3 separate regions of the Homo sapiens genome follow, and all the other regions are linked to region 3. The links are contacts of gene promoters, found by promoter capture Hi-C in blood cells and fetal thymus (Javierre and others, 2016). All regions are on one chromosome and are shown on one strand. Each heading gives the region's core, a stretch centred on a gene start or on the middle of the fragment in contact. The rest is flanking DNA. Distances are from core to core; before and after follow the strand shown.

Region 1 (3,214 bases), core at 130-2,629, 160 kb before region 3:
TTAAAATTAAAAAGTGAAAAAAAAATAGAAACTTGCCTATTAAAATTATTAAATCACCAATAATGCCACTACTGAGAGACAACCATGGTTAGTATTTATTGTATTTCTTTTGTATCCTTTTTCTCCTAATATTTTTTAAACAAAGTTGGGATTAATACTGCATATAGAATTTTGTGTTCTTTTTTCACTTAACATGTACTTACCGCATAATTTAATTTTTTTTTTTTTTTTTTGAGACAGAATCTCGCTCTGTTGCCCAGGCTGGAGTGCAATGGCACGGCTCACTGCAACCTCCGCCTCCCGGGTTCAAGTGATTCTCCCGCCTCAGCCCCCTGAGTAGCTGGGATTACAGGCGCGTACCATCACGCCTAGCTAACTTTTGTATTTTTAGTAGAGACGGGGTTTCACCATGTTGGCCAGGATGGTCTCGATCTCTTGAACTTGTTACCACCCACCTCAGCCTCCCAAAGTGCTGGGATTACAGGTGTGAGCTACCGTGCCTGGCCTTTTTTTTTTTTTTTTTTTTTTTTTTTTTTTTTTTTTGAGATGGAGTCTCACTCTGTCACTCAAGCTGGAGTGCAGTGGTGCCATCTTGGCTCACTACAGCCTCAGCCTCCTGGGTTCAAGCAATTCTCGTGCCTCAGCCTCCCAAGTAGCTGGGATTACAGGTGTGCACCACCACGCCCGGCTAATTTTTGTATTTTCAGTAGAGATGGGGTTTCGCCATGTTGGCCAGGCTAATACCGAATTCCTGACCTCAAGTGATCTGCCTGCCTCGGCCTTCCAAAGTGCTGGGATTATAGGCGTGAGCCACCATGCCTGGCCTCATTTAATATTTAATTTAATTTATTTTTTTGATTAATTAATTGGTTAATTTTTTTTTGGAGATGGAGTTTCACTCTGTCACCCAGGCCGGAGTGCAGTGGTGCGATCTTGGCTCACTACAACCTCCGCCTCCTGGGTTCAAGCGATTCTCCAGCCTCAGCCTCCCAAGTAGCTGGGATTACTGGTGCCTGCCACCACGCCTGGCTAATTTTTGTATTTTTAGTAGAGATGGGGTTTCACCATGTTGACCAGGCTGGTCTCGAACTCCTGACCTCAGGTGATCCGTCTGCCTTGGCCTCCCAAAGTGCTGAGATTACAGGCATGAGCCACTGCACCTGGCCTAATTTTTGTCTTTTTAGTAGAGTAAATTTTGTATTTTTAGTAGAGTAGGTTTTGCCATGTTGGCCAGGCTGGTCTCAAACTCCTGACCTCAGGTGATCCGCCCACCTTGGCCTCCCAAAGTTCTGGGATTACAGGCGTGAGCCATCGCGCCTGGTGTCGTTTAATATTTTAAAGAAAATTTTTGATAAAGATAACAGATTTACCTTTTTCAAAAACTAAAATTTCAGCACCTAGTGCAGTGGTTTGCACCAGCCTGGGCAACATAGCGAGACCCCATCTTTAAAATAATTTTAAAAGTTAGCTACTCTGGAGGCTGAGGCAGGAGGATTGCTTGAGCCCAGCACTTTGAGGCTGCAGTGAGCCATGATTGCACCATCGCACTCCAGCCTGGGTGATAGAGTGATACCCTGTTTCTTTAAAAAATAAAAATAAAGTCCCCACAAACTAACTAAAATTCCATTTCAAAAACACTGACAGGTATTAATCCATTTTTGTTTCCATTTATCTAGTCCCTCCAGTCCCCAGCGTGTTACCATTAGTTTTTCTTCTTATTCAAAGGTAGCTTTACTCGATATATTGTTTTGTACCTTGCTTTTTTTCTCTCGACAATATATTTTGGACATCTATTCTTTTTTTTTTTTTTTTTTTGAGGCGGAGTCTCACTCCGTCGCCCAGGCTGGAGTGCAGTGGCGCGATCTTGGCTCACTGCAAGCTCTGCCTCTCGGGTTCATGCCATTCTCCTGCCTCAGCCTCCTGAGTAGCTGGGACTACAGTCTCCTGCCACCACGTCTGGCTATTTTTTTTTTTTTTTTTTGTATTTTTAGTAGAGACGCGGTTTCACTGTGTTAGCCAGGATGGTCTCGATCTCCTGACCTCGCGATCCGCCCGTCTCGGCCTCCCAAAGTGCTGGGATTACAGGCGTGAGCCACTGCGCCTGGCCTGGACATCTGTTCTTATCAGTAGCCAGAGAATCTTCCTTGCCATAGATTAGTCATCCAGTACCCTTTAGATGGACACTTGGTTATCCTCAGTTTTTGCTATTGTAAGCAATAAGACAGAAGTAGTAACTACTCTGCACCAATTTTTAAGGGAAATTTATTATTTGTACAAGAAAGCCAGCTAATACATGTAGAAATAATGATAGAATTAGAAAATGAATATTTTCAGCATCTCCCCCCATTAAAAAAGTACAAGAGAGAATCATCAATGAATGCTAACCCATTAAGTAAAAAGTTGAGAAGTAATAGGATATTTACATGATGCCAAATAATTGCCACAGATTGCTAATTGTAAAGGGGGAGATATTCCTTTATAAAGAGAGGTCTGGCTCTTAACAACCTCAACCAAGTAATCATCTTTCTACAAATGATCACTAATGATGGTACAGTCTGAAAATATGTGCCACCTGATGTACTCCACCTTGAGGTATATAGGCACATCAACTGTGACGCACTGTCACCAAAAACATTTAAACTAATGAAGGTTTTAGACCTAACCTGCTGTTTACAGGAAATAAAGGTATAGAGAGGCAAGCTAAATGCTACTATGAGGAAACAATCAGTTGAGTCTAGGATGTAAGGCATTCTAACAAGTCAACTCTCCTGATCTTTTAGAAAAGCTAGTGTCGGCTGGGTGCAGTAGCTCACACCTGTAATCCCAGCACTTTGGGAGGCTGAGGCGGGTGGATCACCTGAGGTCAGGAGTTCAAGACCAGCCTGGCCAACATGGCAAAACCTGGTCTTTACTAAAAATACAAAAATTAGCTGGGTGTGGTGGCAGGTGCCTGTAATCCCAGCTACTCCGGAGGCTGAGGCAGGAGAATTGCATGAACCCAGGAGGCAGAGGTTGCAGTGAGCCGAGATTGCGCTGTTGCACTCCAACTGGGGCCACAGAGTGAGACTCTGTCCCCCACCCCCCCCAAAAAAGAAAGAAAAGCTAGTGTCACAAATAAATGAAAACATAAACAAAACAAAACATGGAGGCCATTCTAGGATAAAGGAGACTAAAGAGACATAAACGTCCAAAGTCGTTGCTTGAGTTTTGATTA
Region 2 (3,031 bases), core at 141-2,640, 180 kb before region 3:
CTGGAGTGCAGTGGTGCGATCTTGGCTCACTGCAACCTCCGCCTTCTGGGTTCAAGTGATTCTCCTGCCTCAGCCTCCTGAGTAGCTGGGATTACCTGTGCATACCAACACACCTGGCTAATTTTGTATTTTTAGTAGAGATGGGATTTCTCTCATGACCAGCCATGTTGGCTGGTCATTTCTCAACATGACTAGCCATGTTGGCCAGGCTGGTCTCGAACTGCTGACCTCAAGTGATACACCCACCTTAGCCTCCCAAAGTGCCGGGATTACAAATATCCATGAGCCACTATGCTCAGGCAGACCTTGCATTTTTGCAGATCTCTTTGGAATGCTATTTCTATAGTACACAGACTCTACTCTCACTGAATATGGCTAACTCAGCTATCCTACATTAGCATGGTAAACATCTGCTAGGTTTGCCCCAGTCAGAAAGTATTCTGTACCTGCCATCTTGCTTGGCACTTTATATATATATATATATATATATATTTTTTTTTTTTTAATCTCTCAGTGATATAGTGATAATAGGTGAAAAAGGTAGGCTGCAGGGTAATGTGTGTTATATATGATCCCATTTTGGTACAGGAAACAAAAACTATTATATGCATACATGTTTGTATGAACTATGAGTTTATAAGGTTATCTCAAGAGGGTAGGGTTGGAGGGTTACTTTTTTTTTTTTTTTTTTTGAGATTCCCTCTTGTCGCCCAGGCTAGAGTGTGGTATATATAATCCCATTTTGATTCAGGAAGCAAAACCTATTATATGCATACATGTTTGTATGAAGTATGAGTTTATAAGGTTATCTCAAGAAGGTAGGGTCGGCTGGGCATGGTGGCTCACAACTATAATCCTAGCACTTTGGGAGGCCAAGGCAGGTGGATCGCCTGAGGTTAAGAGTTCAAGACCAGCCTGGCCAACATGGCAAAACCCTGTCTCTACTAAAAATACAAAAATTAGCTGGTCTTGGTCGCACATGCCTGTAGTCTCAGCAACTTGGGAGACTGAGGCAGGAGAATCGATTGAACCTGGGAGGCGGAGGTTGCAGTGAGCTGAGATGGCGCCACTGCTCTCCAGCCTGGGCAACAGAACAAGACTGTCTCAAAAAAAAAAAAAAAAAAAAAAAGGTAGGGTTGAGGGTTCCTTTTTTTTTTTTTGAGATGGAGTTTTGCTCTTGTTGCCCAAGCTGGAGTGCAATGGTGAGGTCTCGGCTCACTGCAATCTCTGCCTCCCAGGTTGAAGCGATTCTCTTGCCTCAGCCTCCTGAGTAGCTGGGATTACAGGCATGTGCCACCACGCCCGGCTTATTTTATATCTTTTTAGTAGAGATGGGGTGTCTCTGTTGGTCAGGCTGGTCTCAAACTCCTGACCTCAGGTGATCCACCCACCTTGGCCTCCCAAAGTGGTGGGATTACAGGCATGAGCTGTTGCACCTGGCCACTTTTTTTTTGTTTTTTGTTTTTTGTTTTTTGTTTTTGAGTTTCTCTCTTGTCACCCAAGCTGGAGTGCAATGGCATGATCTCAGCTCACTGCAACCTCTGCCTCCTGGGTTCAAGCAATTCTTCTCCCTCAGCCTTCTGAGTAGCTGGAATTACAGGCGCCTGCCACCACTCCCGGCTAATTTTTGTATTTTTAGTAGAGACGGGGTTTCACCACGTTGGCCAGGCTGGTCTTGCACTCTTGACCTCAGGAGATCTTCCTGCCTCGGCCACCCAGAGTGCTGGGATTACAGGTGTGTGCCACTGCGGCATCCAGCTGGATTTTATTTTATTTTATTTTTTTAAGACAGAGTCTCACTCTGTCTCCCAGGCTGGAGTGCAGCGGCAGGATCTCAGCTTACTGCAACCTCCACCTCCAGGGCTCAAGTGATTCTTGTGCCTCAGCCTGCCAAGTATCTGGAATTACAGGCATGTGCCACCACACCTGGGTAATTTTTGTATTTTTAGTAGAGATGGGGTTTCACCAGGTTGGCCAGGCTGGTTTCAGACCCCTGATGTCAAGTGATCCGCCTGCCTCGGCCTCTCAAATGCTGGGATTACAGGTGTGAGCCACCGCGCCCAGCCCCAGCTAGGTTTTTCAAGTATAGTTTGGCACACGGCAGGCTAGGGAATGGGTGCTGCTGATTGGTTTGGGGTTGCAATCATAGGCACATGTGAAATGGTCCTTATGTACTGAGTCTGCTTCTGGCTAGGGGCTACAGAGGAATCGCTGGTTGGGGTGGGGTCATCTTGTCATCAGAAGTGCAAAAGTCTGAAAAGACATCTTAAAAGGCTGGGCACGGTGGCTCACGCCTGTAATCCCAGCACTTTGGGAGGCTGAGGCGGGCGAATCACTTGAGGCCAGGAGTTCGAGACCGGCTTGGCCAACATGGCGAAACCCCATCTCTACTAAAAATATGAAAATTAATGTGGTGGTGCCTGCATGTACTCCCAGCTATTTGAAAGGTTGAGCCAGAGGACTGCTTGAACTCGGGTGGTGGAGAATGCATTGAGCCAAGATGGCGCCACTGCACTCCCACCTGGGAGACAGAGCAAGACTCTGTCTCAAAAAATAAATAAGGCCGTGCTTGGTGGCTCATGCCTGTAATCCCAGCACTTTGGGAGGCTGAGGTGGGTGGATCTCCAGAGGTCAGGAGTTCGAGACCAGTCTGGCCAAAATGGTGAAACCACGTTTCTACTAAAAATACAAAAATTAACTGGGTGTTGTGGTGTGCACCTGTAATTCCAGCTGCTCGGGAGGCTGAGGCATGAGAATAGCTTGAATCCGGAAAGCGGAGGCTGCAGTAAGTCGAGATGGGACCACTGCACTCCAGTCTGGGCTACAGAGCAAGACTCTGTCTCAAACAAACAAACAAACAAACAAACACTACTTAATATGCTTACATTTTTATTTATTTTAATTTTATTTATTTTCTTGAGACAGGGCTCACTCTGTTGCCCATGCCAGAGTGCAGTGGTGCGATCTCTGATCACTGCACCCTCCGCCTCCTGGGTTCATATTCTTACATTTTAGCAGAGTTCAGGCCCCT
Region 3 (3,322 bases), core at 428-2,927:
CGCCCTTGGCCTTGCTTGTTTTCTCATCTGACTGTTTTAAGGATCTATCTGCCTTCCTCCTCCACAACCCCCACCTCCTCTTAGGAGTATCACACTCTTCTGTGCCCTGGGAAGGATATGGCAAAGTGGAAGAAGTGCAGGAGTGCCGTCTTAGGGTCTTATGAACCAACTTTCCTTATTTGTGAAGTGGGGCAAGAAGAGTAGTGCTTCTTTCACCCCCAGTTATGAGGTCTTGGGAGACCCGATCATTCATGTAACAACAGAAGATGGCTTCCTACTCTAGCCAACCAACCCCAGCCCTGAAGTTCCCAATTCCGACCAACCCCAGCCGTCGCGCTCGCGAGCTCTGGGGACCCGAACTCCACTTCCGGGTTCCGCGCGGAGAACCCCACACCAAGAGCCCCGCAGCGCTGGCTTCTACTCGAGTTCCCTCCCATTCTCTGCCAAGAGGCTCCTGCCTCTCCTCCACCGCCGCCCCCGCAATCGCCCTCACCACCTCCGGCCCTCGGGGGAGGGTCTTGAGTTGTTTCCCCGAGAGAAGAAATCAGACGTCTTAAGCTTAATCAAATGTTTGCGATCAGAATTTGGGGTTACAGGCCTCGGTCCTGGGCGCAGTGGGGAGCGTCCGACCCCGGCGGTCCCCCGGAAGGGCGCTCTCGGAGGGAGACAAGCGCTGGAGCGGAATCAGGCAGGCGAGGCTGCTGGGCCAGGGCGCGGGGAGCTCTCCGAGGTGCTGAAGCCGCCCCAAGGTCCGCCCAGCCTGGGCGAGGCCCGGAGTCCTGAGGCTACGGCCCGTGCGGTTCCCAGCGACCTCTGAGATTGGCTGCCCGCTCTCCGGGATCTTGTCCCGGGCTCCGGCCCCGGCGACCTTGGGCAACCGACTGTCCCTCACAGGCGGCGGTGAACTGGCGGTCCAGGCTGCGCCTGGACTGGCGGCGCGTCCCATCCCAGGGCTGGGAGAGCAGGGGCGCGCCCCTTCCCCGGCCCGGAACGCTGAGCAGGCAGCCGAGCGGGTGCGGGCGAGTGGTCCGCGGTGGGCTCTTCTCTCCCCGGCCGAACCTCTCCAGTCCACCCGCTCCTGCGCTTCCCCAGGCCCCGACGGCGCCCCTCCTCGCGGGCGGCCCGGCCGGCACGCAGCGGCGCGGCTGGAGCTCCCGGCCCTCGACCCCGACGGATCCCTGGCGGCGCAGCCCGCCCCACCCACCCGCAGCCTCCCGCTGGGGTCAGACTCCCGCGCCTCGCGGCCAAACCGCCAGCGGGGCCACGCAGGGCGCTGAGGTCCCGGAGAGGCGCGAAAATAGCTCAGGGTCCCGGGAGTATGGTCAGGGCGGAGGCGGGAGCGCGGCCGGACCCAGCTGCCAGCTCCTTCCCCAGCCCGCGAGGGGGCGCCGCGTCCCCATGACAACGCGGACACCCCCACCCCCCGGAGGGCAGCGCCCCCTGCTCCCCTGCGTCGCTGGCCGTGGGCGGCGCCCTCTGTGCCCAAGCAGGGAGCTGCCGGCCAGCCCCCGAGAGGGGCGCGGACCGCCGGGGTCTCCGACGCCTCGGGTGTTGACCCCCGCGCGTCGCCGCCGGGTGACCGGCCCGGGGCGGGCGGCGCGGCCCCGCCACGATTGGCTGCTTCCTCGTGACATCACGCGGCTCGGGGAAAAGTGCGAGCGTGAGCGCGAGTCGGAGCCACAGCGCCGGGAGCTGCGGGCGGAGCAGGGGCCGCCCCTCGACACCCCGTCCCCGCCCCCGGCCCTCGGCCCGGCCGCCCGCCCCGCCGGCCCGCGGGGCCGCGCGTCCGTCCCGCCGTCTGTCTGGCGCGAGGGGAGCTGGGCAGAGGCGGCGGGTAAGTGGCTCCGCGGCGGCGCGGGGGCGGGGGGCTCGCCGGGAAGAGCAGGAAGCAGGTCCCCGGGACGCTCTGAGGCTCCCCAGAGGTGGGTTCGACTGGGACAGGGCGCCAGACCCCCTCCGGGGCGAGCGCGGGCCGGGAGCGGCAGTGGGCCGGGGCTGGGGGACCCCGCTGGAAGCAAGGCCGGGGGCTCTCGGAGGCTTCTCCAGGTGCGCCCGGGTGCGCCCGTGGGAAGGGGTGGGCATCCAGGATGTCGGGGGCGGGGGATTGCCCGCCCACAGACCCCACGGAGCCAGGGGCAGCCGTCGGGGGTGGGACCCTGTACTCCAGCCCTCCCACTGGCGGCTCAGCAGGGCGCCGGGCGCTGAAGCCCCAAAGAGCCCTTTTCCCGCCGTCTCCCCGCCCTCCCTCTCCCTCCACCCCTTTGCCCCCGCGCTGCCAGCCCACTCCGGCCCCTGGAGTCCTCCATCTACGACCTTGAGCCCCGACGGAAAACACCCCTGCCCTCCCCGACACCCCTCCCCCGCTCCGGTACTACCCCCCTTTGCTGCCCAGCCTCCAAGCCGGGGTCCTCCAGCTCCAGGCCCCCTCCTCCGGCCCCGCAACGGAAGTGTTGGGCACAATGTCGGTGCCAAATCTTCGCCTCTCCCTCCCTTGGACTCTGGAGTCTCCTCTCCCGCCCCAGGGACAGATCCAGGGGCCACAGCCTTCCCAGAGCCATGGAGTGAATGCCCAAGAACCGAAGACCTACACCCCAAACCACCCCACGGGCGTGCGGAGCACCCCCTCCGGTCTCGCCCGGGGAAGAGGGGTGTCGAGGACTCGGGAAACACAGTGCCCACGCCCAGAGGCTGCAGGAACTGCGTGCTAGGGGCTTGGAGGGAGGGCGGGGCACCCGAGAGCCAGGGCTCCTTCGACCACGGCGGAGACATGGAGGAGCCTCCAGATGGCCTAGGAAAACACGGCCCTCGAGGCCCGCCCGACCCTAGCGTGAGAAACTGGGTCCCCACTTTGGTCACAGGGGCTAGACAGTGCCTCTGGGGTAGGGTGCAGGGTGAGGAGAGAAGGAGGACAAGAGTCTTGCACTCGCCTGACCCGAGCTCTGTCCGGGCCTCCGCCTTGTGGGTGCACTGCGGATGCCCTCTCGCCGCGAGAATGGGCGGCTTTTGGCAATAACGCCTCTTAGGGGAGTTATTAGAGCTGAGCGTGCCTGGTGTCCCTCAAGGCCAGGTTGGGCGACTCTCGCAGAGGCCCCTCGACAGATGTCAGTCAGAGGCTAGGACTCTGCCACATCTTTAAGGACTTGGACACCTCTGGGCACCGGGCTAAGACGGCGTCCCAAAGTTAGGTGGCCCGTCGCAGGCAGCCCCTAGTAGTCTGGCCTCCTCGCCCGCACAACCCTTCACCCACAGGCCAGGTGCAATCCCGATGCAGGCTCCTGGCCCGACCCTCTACGCGCTCAGGCGGACAGCTAAGGTCTGGCTG

What was found. The method cuts DNA at HindIII sites, captures the fragments that hold promoters and counts their contacts. A CHiCAGO score of 5 or more calls a contact.
Region 1: a fragment that was not itself captured here is called in contact with the fragment with the promoter of CHRM4 in region 3 in 5 of 17 cell types (endothelial precursors, megakaryocytes, M1 macrophages and 2 more); the score reaches 9.4 in endothelial precursors.
Region 2: a contact is called between a fragment that was not itself captured here and the fragment with the promoter of CHRM4 in region 3, in 1 of 17 cell types (megakaryocytes). The highest score is 5.3, in megakaryocytes.

The regions. Positions count from the first base shown.
Region 1 is chr11:46,549,698-46,552,911 of GRCh38, reverse strand. The region is part of intron 1 of AMBRA1 (autophagy and beclin 1 regulator 1); the gene reads left to right. Among named protein-coding and RNA genes, the nearest start is that of AMBRA1, 43 kb to the left of the region's middle. The HindIII fragment of the contact is 5,972 bases long and covers 1-3,214 here.
Region 2 is chr11:46,566,902-46,569,932 of GRCh38, reverse strand. The region is part of intron 1 of AMBRA1 (autophagy and beclin 1 regulator 1); the gene reads left to right. Among named protein-coding and RNA genes, the nearest start is that of AMBRA1, 26 kb to the left of the region's middle. The HindIII fragment of the contact is 3,778 bases long and covers 1-3,031 here.
Region 3 is chr11:46,390,131-46,393,452 of GRCh38, reverse strand. It overlaps CHRM4 (cholinergic receptor muscarinic 4), which reads left to right and starts at 1,677. Exons shown (of 2, transcript NM_000741.5): 1 at 1,677-1,922. RefSeq lists enhancers at 1-663, 2,181-2,784, 2,785-3,322 and silencers at 1,317-1,366, 1,547-1,636. The HindIII fragment of the contact is 9,198 bases long and covers 561-3,322 here.